Linked DNA regions of Homo sapiens: regions 2, 3, 4, 5, 6 and 7 are each linked to region 1. The links are contacts of gene promoters, found by promoter capture Hi-C in blood cells and fetal thymus (Javierre and others, 2016). All regions are on one chromosome and are shown on one strand. The core of a region is centred on a gene start or on the middle of the fragment in contact, and the rest is flanking DNA. Distances in the headings are between cores, read along the strand shown. Region 1 holds the start of USF2 (upstream transcription factor 2, c-fos interacting). Region 2 holds the start of ZNF792 (zinc finger protein 792). Region 3 holds the start of RBM42 (RNA binding motif protein 42). Region 4 has its middle 12 kb from the start of ZBTB32. Region 5 holds the start of HSPB6 (heat shock protein family B (small) member 6). Region 6 holds the start of HAUS5 (HAUS augmin like complex subunit 5). Region 7 overlaps KMT2B (lysine methyltransferase 2B).

Evidence for each region. Contacts are between HindIII fragments. The CHiCAGO score rates a contact against its expected background, and 5 or more counts as called.
Region 2: the fragment with the promoter of ZNF792 here is called in contact with the fragment with the promoter of USF2 in region 1 in 1 of 17 cell types (neutrophils); the score reaches 6.0 in neutrophils.
Region 3: the fragment with the promoter of RBM42 here is called in contact with the fragment with the promoter of USF2 in region 1 in 1 of 17 cell types (neutrophils); the score reaches 6.2 in neutrophils.
Region 4: a contact is called between a fragment that was not itself captured here and the fragment with the promoter of USF2 in region 1, in 1 of 17 cell types (neutrophils). The highest score is 6.3, in neutrophils.
Region 5: a contact is called between the fragment with the promoter of HSPB6 here and the fragment with the promoter of USF2 in region 1, in 1 of 17 cell types (neutrophils). The highest score is 5.3, in neutrophils.
Region 6: a contact is called between the fragment with the promoter of HAUS5 here and the fragment with the promoter of USF2 in region 1, in 1 of 17 cell types (neutrophils). The highest score is 7.1, in neutrophils.
Region 7: a fragment that was not itself captured here is called in contact with the fragment with the promoter of USF2 in region 1 in 1 of 17 cell types (neutrophils); the score reaches 5.7 in neutrophils.

What each region holds. Positions count from the first base shown.
Region 1 is chr19:35,266,873-35,270,322 of GRCh38, forward strand. USF2 (upstream transcription factor 2, c-fos interacting) reads left to right here and starts at 2,090. Exons shown (of 10, transcript NM_003367.4): 1 at 2,090-2,291; 2 at 2,574-2,620; 3 at 2,709-2,827; 4 at 2,931-3,131. The coding sequence starts at 2,230. LSR (lipolysis stimulated lipoprotein receptor) reads left to right here. Exons shown (of 10, transcript NM_205834.4): 8 at 1-95; 9 at 237-862; 10 at 952-1,092. The coding sequence ends at 987. RefSeq lists silencers at 871-950, 1,031-1,100, 1,201-1,350, 2,509-2,698, 2,839-3,158 and an enhancer at 3,446-3,450. The HindIII fragment of the contact is 13,161 bases long and covers 1-3,450 here.
Region 2 is chr19:34,962,809-34,966,769 of GRCh38, forward strand. ZNF792 (zinc finger protein 792) reads right to left here and starts at 1,421. Exons shown (of 4, transcript NM_175872.5): 1 at 822-1,421. The coding sequence starts at 854. It overlaps LOC124904699 (a long non-coding RNA gene), which reads left to right and starts at 618. Exons shown (of 2, transcript XR_007067236.1): 1 at 618-865. RefSeq lists silencers at 763-812, 923-1,182. The HindIII fragment of the contact is 6,406 bases long and covers 557-3,961 here.
Region 3 is chr19:35,626,910-35,630,567 of GRCh38, forward strand. RBM42 (RNA binding motif protein 42) reads left to right here and starts at 2,127. Exons shown (of 10, transcript NM_024321.5): 1 at 2,127-2,372; 2 at 2,611-2,764. The coding sequence starts at 2,245. RefSeq lists enhancers at 1,097-1,624, 1,550-1,789, 1,938-2,232. The HindIII fragment of the contact is 21,053 bases long and covers 1-3,658 here.
Region 4 is chr19:35,690,793-35,694,373 of GRCh38, forward strand. No RefSeq gene overlaps it. Among named protein-coding and RNA genes, the nearest start is that of ZBTB32, 12 kb to the right of the region's middle. The HindIII fragment of the contact is 301 bases long and covers 1,944-2,244 here.
Region 5 is chr19:35,755,346-35,758,785 of GRCh38, forward strand. HSPB6 (heat shock protein family B (small) member 6) reads right to left here and starts at 1,684. Exons shown (of 3, transcript NM_144617.3): 1 at 1,466-1,684; 2 at 427-549; 3 at 1-338. The coding sequence starts at 1,663. The coding sequence ends at 177. PROSER3 (proline and serine rich 3) reads left to right here and starts at 2,831. Exons shown (of 11, transcript NM_001367856.1): 1 at 2,831-2,881. The coding sequence starts at 2,871. RefSeq lists enhancers at 1,936-2,507, 2,836-3,075, 3,116-3,175. The HindIII fragment of the contact is 14,255 bases long and covers 1-3,440 here.
Region 6 is chr19:35,611,477-35,615,156 of GRCh38, forward strand. HAUS5 (HAUS augmin like complex subunit 5) reads left to right here and starts at 1,259. Exons shown (of 19, transcript NM_015302.2): 1 at 1,259-1,416; 2 at 2,254-2,316; 3 at 2,392-2,424; 4 at 2,559-2,583; 5 at 3,566-3,671. The coding sequence starts at 1,319. HAUS5-DT (HAUS5 divergent transcript) reads right to left here and starts at 1,188. Exons shown (of 2, transcript NR_186318.1): 1 at 1,142-1,188. RefSeq lists enhancers at 993-1,548, 1,137-1,396. The HindIII fragment of the contact is 7,658 bases long and covers 1-3,680 here.
Region 7 is chr19:35,730,578-35,734,049 of GRCh38, forward strand. It overlaps KMT2B (lysine methyltransferase 2B), which reads left to right. Exons shown (of 37, transcript NM_014727.3): 25 at 1-39; 26 at 130-290; 27 at 1,331-1,558; 28 at 1,638-2,931; 29 at 3,020-3,109; 30 at 3,186-3,295. Among named protein-coding and RNA genes, the nearest start is that of IGFLR1, 10 kb to the right of the region's middle. The HindIII fragment of the contact is 6,974 bases long and covers 1-3,472 here.

The sequences.
Region 1 (3,450 bases), core at 840-3,339:
GGACGACTCCATGCGGGTCCTGTACTACATGGAGAAGGAGCTGGCCAACTTCGACCCTTCTCGACCTGGCCCCCCCAGTGGCCGTGTGGAGCGGGGTAAGCAGGAGCCTTGGGGTCTGAGGGCTTTTAAGGTGGGGGGGTGAAACATGTCTCCCTGATACCTGCCGCAGGGACTCTTGGTGCAAACCCTGGACCCCGGGCTCCTCCAGCAGTCAGTGACACCCCCCTTCCCTGCAGCCATGAGTGAAGTCACCTCCCTCCACGAGGACGACTGGCGATCTCGGCCTTCCCGGGGCCCTGCCCTCACCCCGATCCGGGATGAGGAGTGGGGTGGCCACTCCCCCCGGAGTCCCAGGGGATGGGACCAGGAGCCCGCCAGGGAGCAGGCAGGCGGGGGCTGGCGGGCCAGGCGGCCCCGGGCCCGCTCCGTGGACGCCCTGGACGACCTCACCCCGCCGAGCACCGCCGAGTCAGGGAGCAGGTCTCCCACGAGTAATGGTGGGAGAAGCCGGGCCTACATGCCCCCGCGGAGCCGCAGCCGGGACGACCTCTATGACCAAGACGACTCGAGGGACTTCCCACGCTCCCGGGACCCCCACTACGACGACTTCAGGTCTCGGGAGCGCCCTCCTGCCGACCCCAGGTCCCACCACCACCGTACCCGGGACCCTCGGGACAACGGCTCCAGGTCCGGGGACCTCCCCTATGATGGGCGGCTACTGGAGGAGGCTGTGAGGAAGAAGGGGTCGGAGGAGAGGAGGAGACCCCACAAGGAGGAGGAGGAAGAGGCCTACTACCCGCCCGCGCCGCCCCCGTACTCGGAGACCGACTCGCAGGCGTCCCGAGAGCGCAGGCTCAAGAAGGTGAGGGCCGCCCTCCCTGGCGTCCAGACCGTCCCTGGGCCCCCAGCCGGTCCCCGCGGCTCATACCCTTCTTTCTTTCTCCCTTGCAGAACTTGGCCCTGAGTCGGGAAAGTTTAGTCGTCTGATCTGACGTTTTCTACGTAGCTTTTGTATTTTTTTTTTTAATTTGAAGGAACACTGATGAAGCCCTGCCATACCCCTCCCGAGTCTAATAAAACGTATAATCACAAGCTCTGGAGAGAACCATTTGTTCGGCCGCGCGGGGCGGGGGACCGGGGCTGCTCCCGTATGCGTCTGTAAAGCGCCGCGTCCCGGGGGCACCGGAGTCCGGGGCCGGGAGGAAGAGACCCAGCCTGGCCCGGCCCGCGCCCGCGCCGCCGGCCGGAGAACGTGCCCCGCGCAGCCGCCGCCCGCCTGCGTGCGCGCCCCGGCCCCGCCCAGGCGTGCGCATGCGCCCCGGCCCTCCGCCTTCGCGCACCGCAGGCTGGCCGTCCGGGACGCGCGCGCGCTCCTCTCCCCTTCCAGCCCATCCCCCCCAGCCCCCCACCGACCTACTTTACTGTCTCCAAACTCGGGCAGCCCACCTGGCCCCCGACGACCCCAGCCCCTGCACCGGGTACCCCGACGTTCCATCCAGACCCGCGTTTCACCAGGGCGGCGCGCGGCGACCTCGCGCCCCGCGGAGCCCCGGGCTCGCGCGCGCCCGCCCGCCCCCGGAGACAGACCAGCGCGCGCGCCCCGGGCCGCCTCCCCCCAGCGCGCGTCCGCCCCGGGGCTCGCGCCGCCGCCGCCGCCGCCGCCGCGCGCGCGCAGCTCAAGTAAAGGAGGAAAAAAAAAAGGGGGAAAAATAGAAAGCGGCGGCGGCTGCAGCAGCGATCCGCCGCCGGACTGGGCCAAGCCGGGCGGCGGCCGCGCGAGCCGGCGATCCAGGGCACTGGCGGCGGCCAGCCAGGGCGGGCCGTGTTCAAAAAAAAAAGTCGCGGCGGCGGCGGCTGCTCAGGGAAGGAGGCCTGAGGGCCGCGTGCAGCGGGCGGGCAGCTGGGTGGGCTGGGGGCGGCCGCGCGGCGTCCCGGAGCCTCGGGCCGCCCGGAGCCGGCGGGCGGGCGGAGGCGGAGGCGGCGGCGGCTGCAGCGGCTGCAGGAGCGGCGGCGGCTGCGGCGGCGGCGGCGGCATCTCCTCCTCACATGACCCCACTGTTTGTCCCCGTGATCAGCGCGAGCGGCTCCCGTATCTCCTCCGTCCCCTCCTGCCGCGCGGCGTGAGCGCCGGGCTCGGGGCCCCCCCGGCCGCCCGCCCCCTCCCCTCCCTCCCTCCCCTCCCCTCCCCTCCCCCCCGGGCCCCGCGCCCCCCCCGCCCCCGCCCCCCCCATGGACATGCTGGACCCGGGTCTGGATCCCGCTGCCTCGGCCACCGCTGCTGCCGCCGCCAGGTAAGATCCCCGGCCCGGCCGTGCCCCCGCGCCCCGGCCCCGGCCCCGGCCCCGCGGCCTGCAGGCCGGGGCCGCCATGATCCCGAGCGGCCGCGGGCCCGGCTCAAAATGGAGGCCGCCGGCGCGGGGGGGACCTGGCGCCTCCCGCCCCCGGCCCCCGGCCTCGGCGGCGCCCCCGGCCTCAGGCGCGGCCGGGTGGGACTGGGGCCCTGCAGCTGGGCGCGGGGGCGGGGGCGCGGGCGCGGGCCGCGCTGACCCTGCTCCCTCCTGTGCCCCTGGCAGCCACGACAAGGGACCCGAGGCGGAGGAGGGCGTCGAGCTGCAGGAAGGTGAGTGCTTGCCGGGCCGGCCGCGCCCGGGGAGGGCTGGGGGCGCTCGGCGCGGCCCTGACCGTGCCCCGACCCTCCTCGGCCCCAGGCGGGGACGGCCCAGGAGCGGAGGAGCAGACAGCGGTGGCCATCACCAGCGTCCAGCAGGCGGCGTTCGGCGACCACAACATCCAGTACCAGTTCCGCACAGAGACAAATGGAGGACAGGTGAGCGGCGGGCCGCGAGGGCGAACGGGCGGGCGGGCGGGCGCGCCGGGAAGGCTCGGACCTGGCCCCAGCGCCGGCCTCGCCGCTCTGCCGCCCCCTGCAGGTGACATACCGCGTAGTCCAGGTGACTGATGGTCAGCTGGACGGCCAGGGCGACACAGCTGGCGCCGTCAGCGTCGTGTCCACCGCTGCCTTCGCGGGGGGGCAGCAGGCTGTGACCCAGGTGGGTGTGGACGGGGCAGCCCAGCGCCCGGGCCCCGCCGCTGCCTCTGTGCCCCCAGGTCCTGCAGCGCCCTTCCCGCTGGTAGGTGCCCTGCCACCCCTGGGTGGGGGGGGGAGGGAGTGGAGAGGGGACACTGGCTCTGCTCTTGGGGAGCCCCGGGGGTGGGGCAGGTGTCGCCCAGCGGATGCTGCCTTCAGGCCTCAGGCTGCATGGGGCCAGATCCCTGTTGTGCACCGTGAAACCTGGGGACAGTGCTCTTGGAATTTTTTTTTCCCGCAAAATGGGAATGATGTGTCTTAAGAGGAAAGTTTCTTAGAGTGCGAAACGGATTTGCTCAGCAAGTGATCGCTGACCTCCCGCCATGTTCCAGGGCTGTTTGAAACACAGGACAGAATGCTAC
Region 2 (3,961 bases), core at 171-2,670, 300 kb before region 1:
GGGGGTCTCTGGGACATCACAGGCTCAACTTGGCCAAAACCTAACTTCTACTGCTTCCATGGAAAATTCCTCCTAAAACCAACTTCTCAGTTCATAAAGCTGGATTCATCAAACCAAAAACCATGGATTCTTCCCTCCTCTTTCTCACCCTCCACATCGGAAAATTTGGTCAGCTTGACTTAAAAGACATCAAGTTCCCAATCACTTCCTCTACCTCCAGTCCTCACTCTGGTCCGGCCAGCCGCAGCACTGGCCTGGGCTATTCCATTAGGCTACTCCTTGGCATCCCTGCTTGCGGCTCACTCCATATTCAGTTCTCCACTGTGCATCCACAGGGAGCCTGTTAAGACCTGAGTCACAGCATCTTCCTCCTCTGCCCTAAACCTTCCATGGCTCCCAACACCCTCAGAACAGAGGCCCAGCTCTGCCGTTCTGAGCTGTCTTCAGCCCACCTGCTCTCTGGTTCCAGCAGACATAATATTAATAACACTGACCTGGGTGGGGTTCCTTGAACACTCCCAACTCAGTCTCCACACCGTGCCCCACCCCACCCCCAAGCTTTTGCGCACGCTGGTTCCTGTGCCTACAAAGCCCTTTCTCCCTCCATCCCATTACATTTCAGCAACGGAAGCCACTTTATATAAACCCTGCCCTGATTCAGGATCCTAGCTGGGAGCAACTCCCTTCCAGGGTCCCCTGACTCAAAAGCAAGGAAATGGGAAAGGCGAAAAGTCCTAGAACAAAGCCATCTTTTGCGTCTCAACACCGAGAACAGAAGCGTGGGGGGCCGACAGCGAAGGGCCTAACGTCCAAGCACTCACCTGCGCGGGGTCCCGCAGCGCCGCCGCTGCCATCGGAGTCTGTGGTCAGAGCAGGGCCCCACGGTGCGGGAAACCACGGGGCGGGGGTAGGGGGTCTCGCAGGCTGAGGCTACCACCCACCTGGCCGTGCCCCAGACGAGGTGTGACCCCGGGCTGAGGGTCGCACTCCTAGCCTCAGTCTCCCCCGTGCAAAATGCGCAAGGGGCCCGGGGCGCAGGCTCCGGGGGCGCCGAGAGCGCGCAGCTCCGCTGGGTACCCCCGTTGCAAGGGGTCACGGCTGGTGCAAAGGCGCGGAGGGGGTCCCGGCCTCACTGTCCCCCTCGCGGTCCGGGAAAGCCGGCGGGGCAGCTTCACGGGCGTAGCCCCAGCCGCCCCGCCCCCAACTCGGGGTCCCCAGCTCCTGGGGACTCAGCCTCCCCGCCGGGAAATGACCTGCGAGGCTGCAGTGCAGGAAGTTCCGGCCCCCACCGTGGCGGCCGGGAGAGTTGCCCTCTCCCGTACTGTCATTGGCCTGGCGCCAGCCGCTGGTGCACAGGCAGGGCCTGGGGATCGCGAGTTTCTGCCCAGCCTCTCGTCAGGCTGAGGGTCCAGGGCGGGAAGGAGAGCGGATCTCGTCGGGTCTCCACCGCCGCCGCCTGCAGCCCTCGGGCCTTCCCCTTAAAGGGGCCGCTCCCGAGCCTGCAGCCGCCCGCGCTAAACCCCGCCCACCCTCCGAGGTCCAGGAGGAGAGCCCCAGTGCTCTTCCTGCGCGTGTGGGCATCGGCCAGCCGCTTCACCCCTAAGGGACCTAAATTCACACTGGAAAATGGGGATAGTACCCAATGGGCGGGGTCTTTGCGTTGTAATATTAAATGTCGCTCTGATTCAGGGCTTCTCAAACCAGCAACATCAGCATCACCTGGGGACTGGCTGAAAATGCAGGTTCTGGGGCAACAACTTAAATCTAAGGACTCAGAAATTCTGGGGATGGGATTCAGCCTTCTCTACTTTTTGCGGGGGGGGCGGGGGGGATGGGTCTCGTTCTGTTGTCCAGGCTGGAGTGCAGTGGCCTGATCATAGCTCACTGCAGCCTCCATCTCGGGCTCAAGCTATCCTCCTGCCTCAGCCTACCAGGTAGATGGGATACAGGCGTGCACCATCATACACAGCTAATTTTAAAATTTTTTGTAGAGACTGGATCTCCCTGTGATGCCTAGGCTGGTCTCAAACTCCTGAGCTCAAGTGATCCTCTCACCTCGGCCTCCCAAAGTGTTGGGAATTGCAGGAGTGAGCCATGGTGCCAGGCCTCCTTCTCTGTTTTAACAAGCCCTCTGGGGACTCCAATGCTGGCTCCAACTTTACAGCAGGGACTCTCATTGAAATCCAGTAAATAAAATGGGAAAAATAACACTACATTGTTGCAGGAAGTCAGGGACCCCGAACGGAGGGACCTGCTGAAGCCGTGACAGAAGAACATTAATTGTGAAGATTTCATGGACATTTATTAGTTCCCCAAATTAATACTTTTATAATTTCTTATGCCTGTCTTTACTGCAATCTCTGAACATAAATTGTGAAGATTTCATGGACATGTATCGCTTCCCCAATCAATACTCTTGTGATTTCCTATGCCTGACTTTACTTTAATCTCTTAATCCTGTCATCTTCGTAAGCTGAGGATGTATGTCATCTCAGGACCCTGTGATGATTGCGTTAACTGCACAGATTGTTTGTAGGGCATGTGTGTTTGAACAATATGAAATCTGGGCACCTTAAGAACAGGATAACAGCGATTTTCAGGGAACAAGGGAGATAACCTTAAAGTCTGGCTGCCTGTGGGACGGGCAGGACAGAGCCATATTTCTCCTATTACCAAAAACGGGTAAGAGAAATATCGCTGAATTCTTTCCCCAGTAAGGAATATTAATAATTAACAGCCCTGGGAAAATAATGCATTCCCAGGGCAGTGCCTCTAAAATGGCTGCCCTGGGAGTGTCTGCCTTATGCACATGTAGATAGGGATGAAACACACCCTAGTCTCCTGCAGCGCCCCCAGGCTTGCTAGGATTAGGAAATTCCAGCCTGGCGAACTCTAGTCAGACCAGTTCTCTGCTCTTGAACCCTGTTAAGATGTTTATAAATGACAATGCGTGCACAGCAGGACATGGAAGCTCATGAGTGATTCTAGTTTTGCCCTGACCTTGTGATCTCGCCCTGACCTTCTGCCTTGTGATCTTTTGTTGCCCTTAAAGCATGTGATCTCTGTGACCCACACCCTATTCGTACACTCCCTCCCCTTTGAAAATTGCCAATAAAAACTTGCTGGTTTTATGGCTCGGGGGCATCACGGAACCTGCTGACATGTGATGTCTCCCCCAGACACCCAGCTTTAAAATTTATCTCTTTTGTACTCTTTCCCTTTATTTCTCAGACCAGCCGACACTTAGGGAAAATAGAAAAGAACCCACATTGAATTATCGGGGGTGGGTTCCCCCGATACTACATGTCATATGGTGAAACCACCTTTGTAAAAATTATAACTGAGAAAATTATGACAGTGAGAGATCTGACCTAACCAACTCCATCTTGCTTCTAACCTCCAAGCTGTCCTTGTTCGTTCCTGAGCATAGGCCTAACTAACTTTGGGAGAAACTCAGTTTACAGTTTAACTTTGAAGCAAAGATAACAGCCCTTTCCCTCTAGGCCGGGCATGGTGGTTCACCCCTGTAATCCCAGCACTTTGGCAGGCCGAGGCAGGCGGATCACGAGTTCAGGAGATCGAGACCATTCTGGCTAACATGGTGAAACCCTGTCTCTACTAAAAATACAAAAAATTAGCCAGGTGTGGTGGCGGGCACCTGTAGTCCCAGCTACTCAGGAGGCTGAGGCAGGAGAATGGCATGAACCCCGGGAGGTAGAGCTTGCAGTGAGCTGAGATCGCCTCCAGCCCGGGCAACAGAGCGAGACTCCATCTCAAAAACAAAAACAAACAAAAAAACCCAGCCCTTTCCTGAAACAAACCCTCTTCTTGTCTGGGGACCAGACTGCCTTTGTAGGATTAACAAAAGCCACAAGATTAGAGAGTATGGTTTAGGAGTCATGCAGCCAGGGGCCAGGGGTCACAAGATTTTAAACCTTCCCAATTGCTACTGGGGATAACA
Region 3 (3,658 bases), core at 877-3,376, 360 kb after region 1:
ATTACAGGCGCTCGCCACCACGCCCAGCTAATGTTTGTATTTTTAGTAGAGACGGGGTTTCACCACGTTAGCCAGGCTGGTCTTGAACTCCTGACCTCGTGATTCACCCGCCTTGGCCTCCCAAAGTGCTGGGATTACAGGTGTGAGCCACCTCGCCTGGCCTCTAAGTTTTTCTTGTTGGTAAACATCTGAGCAAGCAAAAATTTAAGTTTTGACAGGAAAAAAAAAAGACAATCAAATGCAATATTTGGACCTTGTTTTGATCCTGATTCTACTATCGTATAAAGACATTTTTGAGACAAGGAAAACTGAACACGGTCTGGGTGTTAGATGATACTAAGAAATTAATTTGATGGTATTCATAATGGCATAGTTAATGGTATTTTTTTTTTCTTGACACTGAGTTTCACTCTATCGCCCAGGCTGGAGTGCAGTGACGCGATCTCGGCTCACTGCAACCTCTGTCTCCCGGGTTCAAACAATTCTCCTGCCTCAGCCTCCCGAGTAGCTGGAACCACAGGCGCACGCCACCACGGCCGGCTAATTTTCGTATTTTTAGTAGAGACAGGGTTTCACCATGTTGGCCAGGCGGGTTTCAAACCCCTGACCTCAGGTGATCCGCCCACCTCGACCTCCCAGAGTGCTGGGATTACAGGTGTGAGCCACTGAGCCCAGCGTTAATGGTATTTTTTAAAAATAGTTCTTATCGGCCGGGCCGAGATCGCGCCACTGCACTCCAGCCTGGGCGACAGAGCGAGACTCCGTCTCAAAAAAAAAAAAATAGTTCTTATCTGTTAAGGAGACATAATGGCGCATTTATGACTGAGTTGATGTCTGGAATTTGCTTTAACATACTCCAGCAAAAAAATATAAAAATAAGAAAAGTATAAGGCCATGCGCAGTGGCTCATGCCTGTAATCCCAGCACTCTGGGAGGCCGAGGCGAGTGGATCACTTGAGATCAGAAGTTTGCTACCAGCCTGGCCAACATGGTGAAACCCCGCCTCTACTAAAAATACAAAAATTAGCCGGGTGTGGTAGTACACACCTGTAATCCCAGCTACTAGGGAAGCTGAGGCAGGAGAATCCCTTGAGTCCAGGAGGTGGAGGTTGCAGTGAGCCGAGGTCACACTACTGCAATCCAGCCTGGGCGACAGAGCGAGACTCCGTCTCAAAAAAAAAAAAAAAAAAAAGAAGAAGGTACTTTGTAACATTCTCCCCGCCCTTGAGAATGTACTTTATAAGCCTATCCCAAACCTGTAAGAACTAATGATAATCCCACCACCCTTTGCTGACTCCTTTTTCGGACTCAGCCCGCCTGCACCCAGGTGAAATAAACAGCCTTGTTGCTCACACAAAGCCTGCTTGGTGGTCTCTTCACACGGACGCGCGTGACAAAGAAGTATAGATCAAGTGAAATCCAGAAGTGTTGAATATTGGTAGCGTTTGAGATGTACTTAAGAGTGCGTTATACTATTCCCCTTAATGTGCATGTTTGAAAATACTCAGAATAAAACACTTGTGAGGGCTACGGGAAAAAAAAAAGGGTCAGCTGTGGCCCAAGAAAGGACAGGGACCAAGCCCACGGACGTGCTCCTCTGAGTTGCACTAGTCTCTGGGCCTTGGCTCCCACCCTGAACAGCTCTCATCTTTAAATGTCTTCAGCTGTCCTCCTCCAGGAAGCCGGGTCAGGCGCTTCCTCCCGGGCGTCTCCGGTCTTCCTGGAAACCACAGGTCGGGTGTCAACCTACTCCAGGATAGGGGCCCCGAGGGGCCAGCCAGGCCTCCCAGCCTTGCCCAACCCTGGGGTTGACACGGACTTTAGCGTCTTTTTAAACTTCCGGCGCGGGCTCTGCGGTGGCACAGGAGGGTCCTCCAAACTTTCCTGCGATCTCAAAGGTCCAGATTCCACATTGGGGATGGGCCCAACTGACTTTGCTTCGCTCTCATTAGCCGGTGGTCCTCCAGGAAAGCGGGGCCGCCTCTCCGCTGTGCTCTCATAGGCCCAGGTTCTTGCGTTCGTGTGTCCTTCTCTCACTCTGATTGGCCTATATTCCCCCTGAGGGTGTGGCCAAATCTCATTGGCTCTCGCGCCCGAATGTATGACGTCATGCGCCAGCGCCCGTCGCTTTTGCTGGACGTCATCCTCGGGAGCCCACCCGGACGAAGGGGGAGAGTAGACAGCAGAACCAGCGGCGGCGGCTAAGCAGAGACTGTAGTAGCGGCGACAGCGACGACGGCAGCGATGGCTGGGGCGGGGCCAGCCCCGGGACTCCCGGGTGCAGGAGGACCCGTGGTCCCGGGTCCTGGCGCTGGCATCCCGGGCAAAAGCGGCGAGGAACGCTTGAAGGAAATGGAGGCGGAGATGGCCCTGTAAGGCCCGCGACAGAGAGTGATAAAAGTCGTCCCAGAGCCAGAGCCACCGAATCTCGGAGCCTCCAGGCCTCGATAGGCCGGAGATACGGCTCTAACATGGGGAAGTGGGACCTTCGGGATTGTGGGGGCGGGGATAGGGGAGAGGTTGGCAGGGGTGAGGGTCCCCTCGCGATATACCCACAGTTCCAAAATTGGTACGAGGTCCTGAGCGCTGATGTCTGTTCTACTCCTCCAGGTTTGAGCAGGAAGTTCTGGGGGCTCCAGTACCTGGAATCCCAACTGCTGTGCCTGCGGTGCCCACTGTCCCCACGGTCCCCACAGTAGAAGCGATGCAGGTCCCAGCGGCTCCTGTGATCCGCCCAATTATCGCGACCAACACATACCAGCAGGTACGGCTGAGCTAAGGCATGTAAGTCAGGGAACACAATGCCTCGAACAGAGTAGGTGTTTGTGTACAGAGAGCTGTTGACGTTTTGGCTTGTTGACTAATTAGCATGACAAATATTTTATATGCCAGGCACTGAGAACACAGTAATGACTGAGAGAGACATTTCTGCCCTGTGGGAGCTTATATTCTAGAACATGTTGTCCAGTAGAGCTTTCTGCAATGACGAGACTGTTCTGATATATTTAAAATTTATATTTAATAGTTCGTTATTCTCATTAGTCACATTTCAAGTGCTCAGTAGCCAACTATATATGACTAGTAGAGAAAGAGAGAGAAATTATTAAGATGAAAATAGGCTGGGCGCTGGGCGTGGTGGCTCACACCTGTAATCCCAGCACTTTGGGAGACCAAGGCGGGCAGATCACGAGGTCAAGAGATCGAGTCCATCCTGGCCAACATGGTGAAACCCCATCTCTACTAAAATTACAAAAATTAGCTGGGTGTGGTGGCACGTGCCTGTAGTCCCAGCTACTTGGGAGGCTGAGGCAGGAGAATCGCTTGAACCCAGGAAGCGGAGGTTGCAGTGAGCTGAGATTGCGCCACTGCACTGGAGCCTGGTGACAGAGCGAGACTCCGTCTCAAAAAAAAAAAAAAAGCCCTGAGGCAGGTGCATACCTGTTGTGTTGTTGTGTTCAAGGAACAGCAAGGAGACCAGTGACAGTGGAGTGAGCAAAGAGGAAAGTGGGAGGAGATAAGGACAGAGAGGTGAGGCCAAATCTTGTAGAGCCTTATGGCCATTTTAAGAACCCTGGTGGCCAGGCACGGTTGCTCACGCCTGTAATCCCAGCACTTTGGGAAGCCAAGGCGGGTAGATCACAAGGTCAGGAGTTCAAGA
Region 4 (3,581 bases), core at 844-3,343, 420 kb after region 1:
CCCACTAGATTAGCTAGATACAGAGTGTCCACACAAAGGTTCTCCAAGTCCCCACCAGAGTAGCTGGATACAGAGTGTCGATTGGTGCATTCACAAACCCTGAGCTAGACACAGGATGCTGATTGGTGTGTTTACAAACCTTGAGCTAGATACAGAGTGCCGATTGGTGTATTTACAATCCCTGAGCTAGACATAAAGGTTCTCCACCTCCCCACCAGACTCAGGAGCCCAGCTGGCTTCACCCAGTGGATCCCGCACTGGGGCTGCAGGTGGAGCTGCCTGCCAGTCCCACGCCGTGCGCCCGCACTCCTCAGCCCTTGGGTGGTCGATGGGACTAGGTGCCGTGGAGCAGGGGCGGCGCTCGTCGGGGAGGCTCAGGCCGCACAGGAGCCCACGGGGTACGGGGAGAGGGGAGGCTCAGGCATGGCGGTCTGCAGGTCCCAAGCCCTGCCCCGCGGGAAGGCAGCTAAGGCCCGGCGAGAAATTGAGCACAGCAGCTGCTGGCCCAGGTGCTAAGCCCCTCACTGCCCGGGGCCGGCGGGGCCGGCCGGCCGCTCTGAGCGCGGGGTCCACCGGGCCCACGCCCACCCGGAACTCGGCGCTGGCCCGCAAGCACCGCGCGCAGCCCCGGTTCCCGCCTGCGCCTCTCCCTCCACACCTCCCCGCAAGCTGAGGGAGCCGGCTCCGGCCTTGGCCAGCCCAGAAAGGGGCTTCCACAGTGCAGCAGCGGGCTGAAGGTTCCTCAAGTGCTGCCAAAGTGGGAGCCCAGGCAAAGGAGGCGCCGAGAGCGAGCGAGGGCTGTGAGGACTGCCAGCACGCTGTCACCTCTCAGTAAGACAGGTCAGGGCTGGGCACAGTGGCTCACGCCTGTAATCCCAGCATTTTGGGAGCTGAGGCAGGAGGATTGCTTGAGGCCAGGATTTCCAGACCAGCCTGGCCAACATAGTGAGACCTCATCTCTCCAAAAAATTTAAAAATTAGCTGGCCATAGTGGTGCGCACTTGTAGTAACCGCTAGTCGGGAGGCTGAGGTGGGAAGATCGCTTGAACCCAGGAGGTAGGGGCTGTAGTGAGCTGTGATGGTGCCACTGCATTCCAGCCTGGGCAATAGCAAGACCCCGTCTCAATAATAATAATAATAGGCCAGGACTTGCTAGATGGGAGGCCGGGGTTTGACCTGACCTCTGACCTCTGGGCAGTCAGGTAGGTAGGCCGCCATCTCTGACCCACATCTGCCACTTGGCTTTCGGGCTCCATCCTACCATATACCTGCAGAGTGTGGCTCAGTCAGACCGGCAGCAGCGTGGCCTCACCCAGGCGGGCCTGCCTGCAGGACAGGTTTGTCCGCCCCAGCCCCCAAACTCAGAGGCCGGCTCCTGTGGGTAAGAGGGGAGCAAAGAGGTCAGGGCTATGTCAGGGCCCGGACCCCTTGAGGGACAGGCAGCCATTTGATGGCTGTTCCCCCCACACCCCAGGTGACTGCATCCCTCCTCAGCCTCTAACCCTCCACGGCTCTCCAGCGCCCTCCTCACCTCGCACTGAGGGCCCGTGTGGCTTGGCCCCTTGCCACCTCTCCAGGTATCTCTTTCTCTCTCTTGCTCCACTGAGCCAAGCTCTCTCTCTCACCATCTGAGATCACAGAATGGAAATAAGAAACTGTGTTATATAGCAATCAAGCCAGGCACATGCCTCTGACTACATCCACTTTTGCTTACACTCCTTCCATGAGGGCAAGTTGGTTCTTTTTTTTTTTTTTTAACTAAAACGTAAAAACACACACCCCTGCCCTTTCCTCAGGTGTCCCACGCCCACCAATTCCTCCTCTCTGGTCCCCGCGTCCTTGGCTGGTGTTAGAAAAATGGCTACAAGCTTCCTGGGAATCAGATAATAAAGCTTACAGGAACTCTTCCCAGATTTAAAAGAGCTTAATAAATAAATAAATAAAGCTTACCTTCTAGAGGGGAAAATAGATAAAACCAATAAGAAAAACACATGTTAGAGGCTAATAAGTGCTAAGGAGAAAAATAAAAGAATGAAAGACAAAACAAAAACCTAGCCGGGCGGGGGGGCGCGGTGGCTTACGCCTGTAATCCCAGCACTTTAGGAGGCCAAGGCGGGAGGAACGCTTGAGGAGTTCGAGACCAGCCTAGGCTACATAGTGAGACCCTGTCTCTACAAAACAATAAAAAAATTTTTAAAAATCGCTGGCCATGGTGGCAAGCACCTGCATCACAGCTGCTCAGGAAGCTTAGGCAGGAGGATCACTTGAGTATGGCAGTCGTCGCTGAAGTGAGCCAAGATGGCACCACTGACTCTGTCAGCCCAGATAACAGTCTCAAAAAAAAAAAAAAAAAAAAGATGACTGGGCATGGTGGTTCACACTTGTAATCCCAGCACTTTGGGAGGCTGAGGCAGGCAGATCACCTGAGGTCAGGAGTTCGAGACCAGCCTGGCTAACATGGCGAAACCCTGTTTCTACTAAAAATACAAAAATTAGCTAGATGTGGTGGCATGTGCCTGTAATCCAAGCTACTCAGGAGGCTGAGATAGAAGAATCACTTGAACCTGGGAGGTGGATGTTGTAGTGAGCCAAGATCGTGCCACTGCACTCCAGCCTGGGTGGCAGAGCAAGACTCCATCTCAAAAAACAAAAACAAAACAAAACAAAGCAAAAAACGGTGAGAGGGCCTGGTGCCCCCTCTGGAATGTTTTTCATTGTCTAGGTTTGACACTGTGCTGTGCCATCACGTGTGGGGCTGGGGAAAGTGCAGATTCCGGGGCACACGCCTGCCCTTGGAGCAGGGATGGAGTCAGCTCCATCTATAGGGTCTGGTCTGGGAGGAGGGAGAGGGTGCTTGCCCAGAGCAGGCTCAGACCCTAAGCCTGAGCCTAGGGAAGGGTGAGCCGACCCTGGAGGCAAATGGACCACAATCCCCCCTCCCCATCAACCTTCACCAGCGATTCCGGGATAAATGACACAGACAGCACTGAGAATTCCATGGTAGTCGTTATTATTACTGTTGTTTTTATTAATAGCAGGGGCCCCATCACTTACCTGTGGGTTATCAATTTATTACCTCTCAGTTCCATTTGTCATCTGGTGCCAGGTTAGGCTTTGTCAATAGAGGGCGCTGGAGAGCCACTGAGGAGCCAGGGCCCCTCTGCCTCACTCCAGGGCTTTGTGTTCTTCCTACTGCGCTGTGACCAGCAGGTGGCTGCTATGCTCCACATTATAGGGAGTGACCTCCACTGCCACCCTCTCCTCCTTCTCCCTCCTCCTCCTCCCTCCTCCTCCCTCCTCCTTCTCCCTCCTCCTCTTCCTTCCTCCTCCTCCTCCCTCTTCCTCTTCCTCCCTCCTCTTTTCTTTCATCCCTCTTCCTTTCTCCTCCTTCTTCCTTCTCCTTCCTTCACCCTCCTCCTCTTCCCTCCTCCTTTTTTCTCTTTCTCCTCCTCTTTCCTCCTCCGCCTTCTTCCTCCTCCTCCTCCTTCTTCCTACCCCTTCTCCTCCCCCTTCCCCTTTCTTTTAAAAGACGGGGTCTCAGCCAGGCACAGTGACTCACACCTGTAATCCCACCTGTAATC
Region 5 (3,440 bases), core at 434-2,933, 490 kb after region 1:
TGGAAGGGTCTATGTTATCAAGGCAGTGTCCAGGATGGAGGTCAGGGCAGAATCCAGGAGTGGGTGAGAGGACAGTCCTTGGCGCACTCGGGACATCTGGCTGGGCGGAGTCAGATCGGCTTTAATAGAGGGAGCCTGAGGAGGCTCCCGGGGTGCGGGCGCGGCCCAGCCCCCTCCTACTTGGCTGCGGCTGGCGGTGGGGCCTGGGCCGACGCTGGTGCGGCCTGGATGGACAGGACGCCCTCGGGGGACAGCGCGGACGTCACGGCAGCCGGATCCACGCCAGGCGGCAGGCGGTAGCGACGGTGGAACTCGCGCGCGACGAATCCGTGCTCATCCTGGAGGGGAGGGAGGCTTGAGCGGCCCCGCCCCTCCGGCCCGGCGGCGAGCGTACCCGCTCCAGCCCCGCCCCACGCCGCGGCTCACCGGGCGCTCCTCGTGGCGCGCGTGCACCTCCACGTGTTCGCCCACCACCTTGACAGCAATTTCCTCCGGCGAGAAGTGCTTCACGTCTAGCAGCACCGAAAAGTGGCCGGGGTCCGTCGGCACCTGAGCGCAGCGGGCGCGGGCGGGACTGTCATTGGGCTGGGCCAGGCTCCAGGACCCACCCAGGGAGACCCCACCCCCGTCGGTTCCGTGCCGCGGCTCACTCTGGCCTCCGGAGTTGAGCAGTCAGCTCTCCTACTGGGAGTCACCCAGGACCTCTTCACCCTGAACAACAGGGATACGCCCTCCCCCTGTAATATCTGGGATTGCCCTCTCCCCCGCAGTGATGAGGCTCCCTTCCCCTGCAAGGTCAGGAACCTCTGCCCTCCCCCGGTGTCAGCGAATCCGAAGTCATCGTGCCCCCCAGGGCACTGATTCCCCAGCTCCCTCCTCAGAGCCCCGGGTCCCTTCTCCGCCAGCCCCGCCAAACTCGCCAAGATGCCCCTTTCCCCGTCTCCAGGGTCCTCTGCCTACTCTCCCACTCGAGTCACGGGACCTCGGCAGCTACTGGTAGCCTTCCCCCACTTCAGAGTGGCCGGGAACCCTTCCTCAAGTCGCAGGGCCCTCTCCCCTCCTCTTCTGGAGATATCGGGCCACCGCACACAGTCTCTCAACTCTTCCCCGAGACTAAGAACATTCCTTCCCCTCAGGAGTCACTGCCCGCCTCCTTTTCCCCAGATTTCCCGGATCACCAGCCTCCTTCAGAGTAAGCAAGACTCCCCTTAGAGTGACCCAGGCCTTCCATTCTCTGGAGAGCTGAGAGCCCCCCACCCCGCCCCCCACCTAAGAGCGACGGGGACCTCCCACCCGCTGCAGTGTGCGGGCCTCAGATTCCCATTGACTCCGGAAGCCCTTCGGAGCTGCGGACTCTCCACCCCGCCCAAGGCCAACGAACATTCTCTCACATGTTCCCACCCCAGGCTGCCCCAGACCCCTGGCAATGGAAGTGGTCGAGTTCACCCCTCCCCAGGCCTGGCACCTGGGCGACGGGCAGCGCCACGCTGGGTGCGCGCAGGTAGTAGGGGGCGAGCGTGGTGGGGCAGAGCGCAGCCAGCTCGGCCTCCAGCAGCCCCTCGCCGAAGCGCTGGTCAAAGAGGCGTCCGGGCGCCGAAAGTCCGGGCAACGGGGCCGAGGCGCGGCGCAGCCAAGACGGCTGCACAGGCACAGGGATCTCCATCCTGCTCCTCCGCGTTGCAGTGCCCCTGCGTGCGCAGCCGCTCATTTATAGTGCGCCCTGTGCCGGCCCCTCGGAGGGCTGCCCAGGGACACTGGGACCGTGGCCAGACCCGGCCATTAGGAGAGCCTTATTTAGAAACCCAAACAATGACTTGGCCATTTATTAAGCGCCTGCTGGATGCCTGGCAAATGCTGTCAAGAAGGTGACATGAAGATTCCCCAATTTCCAGAAGAGGAAACTAAGGCTGAGGAGGGGGAGCCTTGCGGGTGTGGGGAGCACAGCGTGGTGATTGGGGCCCAGGACCCAAGAGGCCCACGGAAGAGTTTCCAGTCCCTTTAATCCACTGCCTCCCCCCTGGCAGCTCTGAGGATGACGCAGATGGAGGTCTTTAGGAGCAGATTCCTGGAGAATGCGGTAGCCCCGCCAGGATGTCAGGAGGACATAGAACAGGCCCTCCCTACCCTTATCCTCAGCCAGACCTTGGGCCCAGTCCCCCGGCAGGCCGGGCCTAATTCTGTGCCTCTGACTCAGCCTCTGGTGCGCAGAGGCCAGGGGGCGCGAGCATGAACAGTTCAGGCTGGCCCCCCGGGGGCCGCGCGCTGGGGCTGGAAATAGCTCATTTTGATCCCGCTACCTCGGCCAGGAGCCCAGACCTGGCAACTGATGCAACCAGCTGCTCCTGCAGCAAGAAAGAAGTTAGATGACCGTTGGGACGGACTGATTGGCCCAACTGATGGAGGAATAGCGGTTAGAGAGAGGGCAGAGCGCGCCCCCCCCCCAACCCGCCCCACTGCCCCTGCAACAGAAAGAATGGTAGTTAGACCGGGGTCGGGACAGGACTTCTGCAGCAAGAAGGCGCTTAAAAAGCGGGACTTTTAAGCGAGGGTACTTTAGATCACCTCCTAACCGCAAGCCCAGCCTCAGATCCTTCCCATTGGTGCACGGTCTTGCCAATTACTGCTACACTCGGCAGGTTCTCCAATCAAACACGCCCTGTCGGGCAGGCAGTCGTCCCAGCCAATCCTGAAACACCTCCCTCCGGGTACTTCTGTTTCCTCTCTTTCATTGGTCGCCTTGGAGGCCGCTCGCCTCCGGCGCGGGCACAGAGAGGGGCGGGGCTGATAGGGCGTTGCTAAGCGACGGAGATGCGCGCGGGGCCTGTTGGGTGAAGGAGCAGAGCGGCCGGAAGCGCGGAGGGAGCCGCGGGATGGACCGCAGGTGAGGCCGATCGCTCTTCCAGGGACTACAGGAGGCTGGGGAGGACCAACGGCGAGAGCAGCACAGCCTAGGACGGGCTGGATACGGTCTGGAGTCGCTAGGGCTCCACCGCACTGGAACTACAATTCCCAACATGCTCCACAGCCGTTGGCCTCTCCAGCCGTAGCCGTTAGCATCCCGGGGGTCCCCTAAGAGTCTTATGTTCCTCTCTGAGTGGGCCCCAAGGAATTATTGCCTCTAAAGGTGTCCAAGAAAGGCTTGAGATCTGAATTTCTTCATTTTGAAATGGCCCCCAGACACGCCTGGGCGTTGTCTTTGAACTTTCTCGCGGAGGCGGAGCCCAGTGGATCCTGGGGCTTGTAGTCCATCTACCCTTTGCCTTCGTGTCCCCCAGGAATGTATGGGAAATGCTCGGTGATATAATCCAGCCGCGGTTCTTTCTTTCTTTCTTTTTTTTTAAGACAGAGTCTCTCGCTCTGTTGGCCCAGACTGGAGTGCAGTGGCACAATCTTGGCTACTGCAACCTCTGCCCCCGGGTTAAAGCAATTCTCATGCCTCA
Region 6 (3,680 bases), core at 9-2,508, 340 kb after region 1:
GGGCATGGTGGCTCACACCTGTAATGCTAGCACTTTGGGAGGCTGAGATGGGCTGATCACTTAAGGTCAGGAGTTCAAGACCAGCCTGGCCAACATGGTGAAACCCCGTCTCTACTAAAAATACAAAAATTAGCTGGGCATGGTAGCGGGCGCCTGTAATCCCAGCTACTCAGGAGGCTGAGGCAGTAGAATCGCTTGAACCCCGGAGGCAAAGATTGCGCTGAGCCGAGATCGGGCCACTGCACTCCAGCCTGGGTGAAAGAGGGAGACTTCACCTCAAAAAAAAAAACAGGGAAGAAAAAAAAAAAGAGAGAGAGAGACAGAGAATATAATGCCTCACGACCTGAAGTGGAACAGTTTCATCCCGAAACCATCCACTGCTCCCACCCTCCATCCCCCAGACTGTGGAAAAATTGTCTTCCATGAAACCAGTCCCTGATGCTCAAAAGGTTGGGGACTGCTGGTCTAGCGCAGACCTCTCACACCTGCTGTGTCCCAAATTGACCCACCCCTGCTGCTTATTTTTACCACCCCTACCTGGTGGTGCGTCTGTCTCCCCACTCAACTGTGAGCTCCGTACAATAGGGACCAGGGCTGTTGTGGTCACCATGGTGTCCCCAGCATCACCCAGCACAGGGTCAGCTCCCTGAGTTTATGGAATGGTAAGCACGAATGAATGGGAAAACGCATGCCAGGGAAATGTTAGGGTCATGCTCTCTGCCCCTACCCTCCACTCAGACATGAGACACCTGTTTCTGAAATCAAAGAGCAGTAAGTCCAGGATCTCATTGCCTGGTTCCAGTCCTCCTAGGACGCAAGTCCCATTTTGTCAAGAAAATAAAGGGGGTGAGCGTGGTGGCTCACGCCTGTAATCCCAACATTTTGGGAGGCCGAGGCGGGAGGATCGCTTGAGCCCAGGAGTTCAAGAGCCCAGAAGCTGAGACTAGCCTGGGCAACAAGTGAGATCCCATCTCTATTAAAATAAAAGTGTTTAGTTAAAAGAAGAAAAAGAAAATAAATGGAAGCATCAAGGACTGTTTTGCCTCTTTCGGGTTAGCTGGTAGTGAGCGGGAGAACGAGGGAAGGCGGGCGGGGCTGCAGTCTCTCCACGCCCTTTTCATTTCCACTCAAGGAGACCTACCTGGGAAGAGTGAGCGCTGCAAGACCCAGCCTGACCGCGCTAAGATTACTATGCAGCGCCCGAGCCCGCTGTCTGCCCGGCAACCGATGACGTCACTGTTGGCGCGCCCGTGACGTCAGAGGCGGGCGCCACACTTGAAGAGGCTGAGGGAGGCGGTGTCGCCGCCGCGGCGCTGTCATGGAGCTAGCGCAGGAAGCGCGGGAACTGGGTTGCTGGGCGGTCGAAGAGATGGGGGTGCCCGTGGCGGCCCGGGCCCCGGAATCGACGCTGCGCAGGTGAGGACCGCTCCTGGAGTGAGGACACCCCACCCTGGAGATTGAGTCTCCGGGAGTGAGAACTCCACCCCTCATTGAGGACTCGACTCCCCCCAATTCCCCATCGAGAGTGACCCGACTTACTGAGGGCTCCCTACCCTGGGAGGCTCCCCAGAGTGAGGTCCCTAGCACTGGTGAGGATCCTCCACGAGTTAGCTAAGACCTCGCTCCTTATGGAAATAGGATCTCCAGAGTGAGGCTGTCCCCGCAGCACCTCCCCTCCCTCCCTTAACCTAACCAAGAAGGACACTCAGGAGTTAGCCGTGGCCACCCCATCGGGGATTGAAGCTGTAGGAGTGATGCCCCACGTCTGGTCATGAGATGGCACTTCCTGGCAGTACATCCCCCACCTCCACCTCTGGATGTGACTGGGATAACCCACTCCCAGGAGAAAGGGAGCACCCGCCTCTCCCGCGCTCCCCCACCACCCGCCTTCCCAGGGAATGAGAATAACACCACACTTAGTGCAAACATCCAGTCCCTACAAAAAAAATGTTTTACCAATTAGCCGGGTGTAGTGGTGCCTGCCTGTAGTCCTAGCTACTCTGGAGGCTGAGGTGGGAGGATCGCATGAGCCCAGGAGGTTGAGGCTGCAAGGAGCTATGATCGTACCACTGCGACAGAGCGAGACTGTCTCTTAAAAAAAAAAAAAAAAAAAAGGCAAAAAAAAGTTTGGGCCTTCCCTCCTCAAGAAGTGAGAACTCCCTAGTAAAAACTCCCTACCACCATCACCCTAGGAATGAGGATCCCACACCCTGTGTGCTGCCCCAGGCATATGCTTACACACTGTCCCCACAGGCTGTGTCTGGGCCAGGGGGCTGACATCTGGGCCTACATCTTGCAGCATGTGCACAGTCAGAGGTAAGCTGGGCTAGAGCAGGGGAGGGGGCACAGGTGAGGCCCATAGTAACTCCTCTTTCTGCCTCTGCACTGTAGGACTGTCAAGAAGATCCGGGGAAACCTACTCTGGTAACTGCTTCTTAAAGCTATCCCCTCCTGTCTTCCCCACTCCCATTTAGCCCTGTCCCCACCACAGCATCACACCTATTGCCCTCCCCCCTAGAAGCCCCACTCATCCGCTGACTCTGGCCTCGTTTTCCTAGGTATGGCCACCAGGACAGTCCACAGGTGAGAAGCATATGCTACAAGATTCTCTTTCATCCGAAAAATGACTTGTAGATCTTCTGCTCTAAGCCCAACCAGGTGCTGGGTGATGCTGGGGACAATGGGTCACAAGACAGCCTTGATCTCCATCCTCATAGGGCTTAAAGTCCAGTGGAAACAGCATTAGCTCAGCCAGGTGCAGTGGCTCACACCTGTAATCCCAGCACTTTGGGAGGCTCACCTGAGGCCTCATCTCAGGTGATGAGATCACCTGAGGGCTCCAGGAAGCGATCAGTACTGGGACAAAGATGTGGTTTGGGAGGCGGATCACCTGAGGTCAGGAGTTCGAGACCAGCCTGGCCAACACGGTGAAGCCCTGTCTCTAATAAAAATAAAAAATTAGCCAGGCGTGGTGGCACACGCCTGTAATCCTAGCTACTTGGGAGGCTGAGGCAGGAGAATCGCTTGAACCTGGGAGGCAGAGGTTGCAGTGAGCTGAGATCGCACTACTGCACTCCAGCCTGGGCAATAGAGCGAGACTCTATCTCAAAAAAAGAAAAAATAAATAAAGAGCATTAATTAGCTGGGCGCAGAGAGGTGGGACCTGGATATGTGGCATCAAAGCTGGTGAGAAGAGATGATGGGACAGGTATGGGAGAGATGCTGAGGCCAGTGTGGGACCCAATGGGTGCAAGGGGCTCATATGACACCTAAGGGGAGGCTTCCAGGAGGCCTTGGGACTTCTAGGTGCAGGGCTCCGGGAAGAGATCAGTACTGGGACAAAGATGTGGTTGTCACCAGCACAGACAGGAAACAGGCTGGAAGTGTGGGTAAGACAATCCTAGGAGGAAGGAGGGAGGGAGCCAATACCCTAATGCTTCTGTGTCAGACACAGAAACTGCTGAGCAAAAACCCTCTGCCACCAGTTGAGGAGCCTGGTACCCCCAAAAGACAGGCCAGGCTGAGCCCCGATCAGACCATCTGACCCTGAATCTGATCCTCCCAGGTCCGTCGGAAGTTAGAGCTGGAAGCTGCTGTGACCCGCCTGCGGGCAGAAATCCAGGAACTCGACCAGAGCCTGGAGCTGATGGAGCGAGACACTGAGGCTCAGGGTGAGCCAT
Region 7 (3,472 bases), core at 1-2,500, 460 kb after region 1:
CTCGGACTGCGAGGGACGGCTCTTCCCCATTGGCTACCAGTGAGCGGTCGGGGTGATCCATGGGGCCAGGGGACTCCATAGCTGGATCCCATTTCCCAAGCATCCTAACCGTCTTATCCCACATGCCAGGTGCTCCCGTCTGTACTGGAGCACAGTGGATGCTCGGAGGCGCTGCTGGTATCGGTGCCGAATTCTGGAGTATCGGCCATGGGGGCCGAGGGAAGAGCCAGCTCACCTGGAGGCTGCAGAGGAGAACCAGACCATTGTGCACAGCCCCGCCCCTTCCTCAGGTGTGGCTTTGGCTCTGTCTTCTTCCTGAATACCGCTCTCCCTAAACAAACCTACAGATCTCTGTTCCCCGCTCCCTTTTGGAAAGTCCAGGAGGCTTGCTTTTGCTTCAGTTGCTGTAATGTAACGGCAGCTCGCTTACTGCCATGCCTTGTGTGCCAGGGGCTGTGCCCGGCTTTTCATGGGAAGTGAGGTGGGGAGAGCGGCACGCTGCCTACTTGAGGTGGGGTACTGGCTTTTGGACGACTGCAGGGAGTAGAGTGCTTACAGCTCCCTAACTTGGGGCACTGTGCTCATGGAGCGCTCTCCAGTGTCGCCATACTACACCTTGAAGGGGACAGTGGCTGAACACAGTAACATGCTAGGGAAGCTGGAATTGGAACTGCATCTGCTCAGCTCCCAAACCGGCCCCCTTACAGCCACACTGGCTGTGGGATGTGGCTGAGAGCTGGATGGCACAGGGCAAAGAATGGGCTTGGAGATGGGGGAGAGGTTATTGTGGGCAGAGCAGGAGGCAGAAGAGATTTGGATGGTAGGAAGGGCTTTATTCCAGGTTGGAGCATGACAAGAAGTGGACAGAGGAGGAGGGTACACCCATCCCGTCTGGAAACCAGGGAGTTTTGGGTGGAGGAGGGAGATCAGTTTGCAGAGGTTGGGTGGAGCCAGGTAATGGAGAGCCTCCGGGCCGGGGCGGGCGGGAGCGTCTGATGTGGCTTGGATGCACCAGGCAAGTAAGAAAGTGGTAGGACTGGCCGTGCTGGAGGGAGGGCAGTTCCCCATGGCGTGCAAAGCCTGCAGCAGAGGCAGAGAGGAGATGGCAAGGAGCGAGTGGGGAGAGGCCCTGAAGGCCCCCTGGCCCAGGTGTGTGCAGGTTTTGCCAACTCCACGGTGGGTTTAGCCTGGGTGGTCACTGGAAACTGGGGCCTGTTGTGACTGGGTCAGGGTCGGGGACCTGGGAGGCATAGTGGCTCAGGATGAGAGCATGTGGGCAGGCTTTGACACAGAGCCCCTACCACCCCAATGCCATTTCTCGCCTCTTCAGAGCCCCCAGGTGGTGAGGACCCCCCACTGGACACAGATGTTCTTGTCCCTGGAGCTCCTGAGCGCCACTCGCCCATTCAGAACCTGGACCCTCCACTGCGGCCAGATTCAGGCAGCGCCCCTCCTCCAGCCCCCCGTTCTTTTTCGGGGGCTCGAATCAAAGTGCCCAACTACTCGCCATCCCGGAGGCCCTTGGGGGGTGTCTCCTTTGGCCCCCTGCCCTCCCCTGGTGAGCACCGGGCATGTGGGGGTTGGGGGTGGAGCCGCGGAGGTGGGAGCTGCTGGTAACACCAACCCTCCCCCCACAGGAAGTCCATCTTCACTGACCCACCACATCCCCACAGTGGGAGACCCGGACTTCCCAGCTCCCCCCAGACGTTCCCGTCGTCCCAGCCCTTTGGCTCCCAGGCCGCCTCCATCACGGTGGGCCTCCCCTCCTCTAAAAACCTCCCCTCAGCTCAGGGTGCCCCCTCCTACCTCAGTCGTCACAGCCCTCACACCTACCTCAGGGGAGCTGGCTCCCCCTGGCCCGGCCCCATCTCCACCACCCCCTGAAGACCTGGGCCCAGACTTCGAGGACATGGAGGTGGTGTCAGGACTGAGTGCTGCTGACCTGGACTTCGCGGCCAGCCTGCTGGGGACTGAGCCCTTCCAGGAAGAGATTGTAGCCGCTGGGGCCATGGGGAGCAGCCACGGGGGCCCGGGGGACAGCTCCGAGGAGGAGTCCAGCCCCACCTCCCGCTACATCCACTTCCCTGTGACTGTGGTGTCCGCCCCTGGTCTGGCCCCCAGCGCTACCCCTGGAGCCCCCCGCATTGAACAGCTGGACGGCGTGGACGACGGCACTGACAGTGAGGCTGAGGCGGTGCAGCAGCCTCGGGGCCAGGGCACGCCTCCTTCGGGGCCAGGAGTAGTCCGGGCAGGGGTCCTTGGGGCTGCAGGGGACAGGGCCCGGCCTCCTGAGGACCTGCCATCGGAAATTGTGGATTTTGTGTTGAAGAACCTAGGGGGTCCTGGGGATGGAGGTGCTGGCCCTAGAGAGGAGTCACTCCCCCCGGCGCCTCCCCTGGCTAATGGCAGCCAGCCCTCCCAAGGCCTGACCGCCAGCCCAGCTGACCCCACCCGCACATTTGCCTGGCTCCCAGGGGCCCCAGGGGTCCGGGTGTTAAGCCTTGGCCCTGCCCCTGAGCCCCCCAAACCCGCCACATCCAAAATCATACTTGTCAACAAGCTGGGGCAAGTATTTGTGAAGATGGCTGGGGAGGGTGAACCTGTCCCACCCCCAGTGAAGCAGCCACCTTTGCCCCCCACCATTTCCCCCACGGCTCCCACCTCCTGGACTCTGCCCCCAGGCCCCCTCCTCGGCGTGCTGCCCGTGGTCGGAGTGGTCCGCCCTGCCCCGCCCCCGCCACCCCCTCCCCTGACGCTGGTGCTGAGCAGTGGGCCAGCCAGCCCGCCCCGCCAGGCCATCCGCGTCAAGAGGGTGTCCACTTTCTCCGGCCGGTCCCCGCCAGCACCTCCCCCATACAAAGCCCCCCGGCTGGATGAAGATGGAGAGGCCTCAGAGGATACCCCTCAGGTTCCAGGGCTTGGCAGTGGCGGGTGAGTGCGGGTGCTGAGGCTGGCAGAGCAGGCAAGGGGGCAGATGGGCGGGAGATGCGGCTCATCCTTCTCGGGCTCGCCCTCCCAGGTTTAGCCGTGTGAGGATGAAAACCCCCACAGTGCGTGGGGTCCTTGACCTGGATCGGCCTGGGGAGCCCGCTGGGGAAGAAAGTCCTGGGTGAGTGGCCAGGCCCCTCTCCCTGGAGGGTCTGGGACCTCTGTCCTTCCCCTTCCTGACAGGTCTCTTCTCGCAGGCCCCTCCAGGAACGGTCCCCTTTGCTGCCACTTCCGGAAGATGGTCCTCCCCAGGTCCCCGATGGTCCCCCAGACCTGCTGCTTGAGTCCCAGTGGCACCACTATTCAGGTAGGGACCGGCCTTGCCCTCTCCCTCCTTGCCTGTGCCTGGCTCAGCTGGGTGACTCACAGATGCAAAATCAGCCCTCTTTCAAAACCAGTATCTACTCCCAGGGGCCAAGCCTGAGGCTCGGTGCTAGAGTTAGAGATGACCTTGGGGAGCCTCTGGCCTTGTGGGAGAAACAGA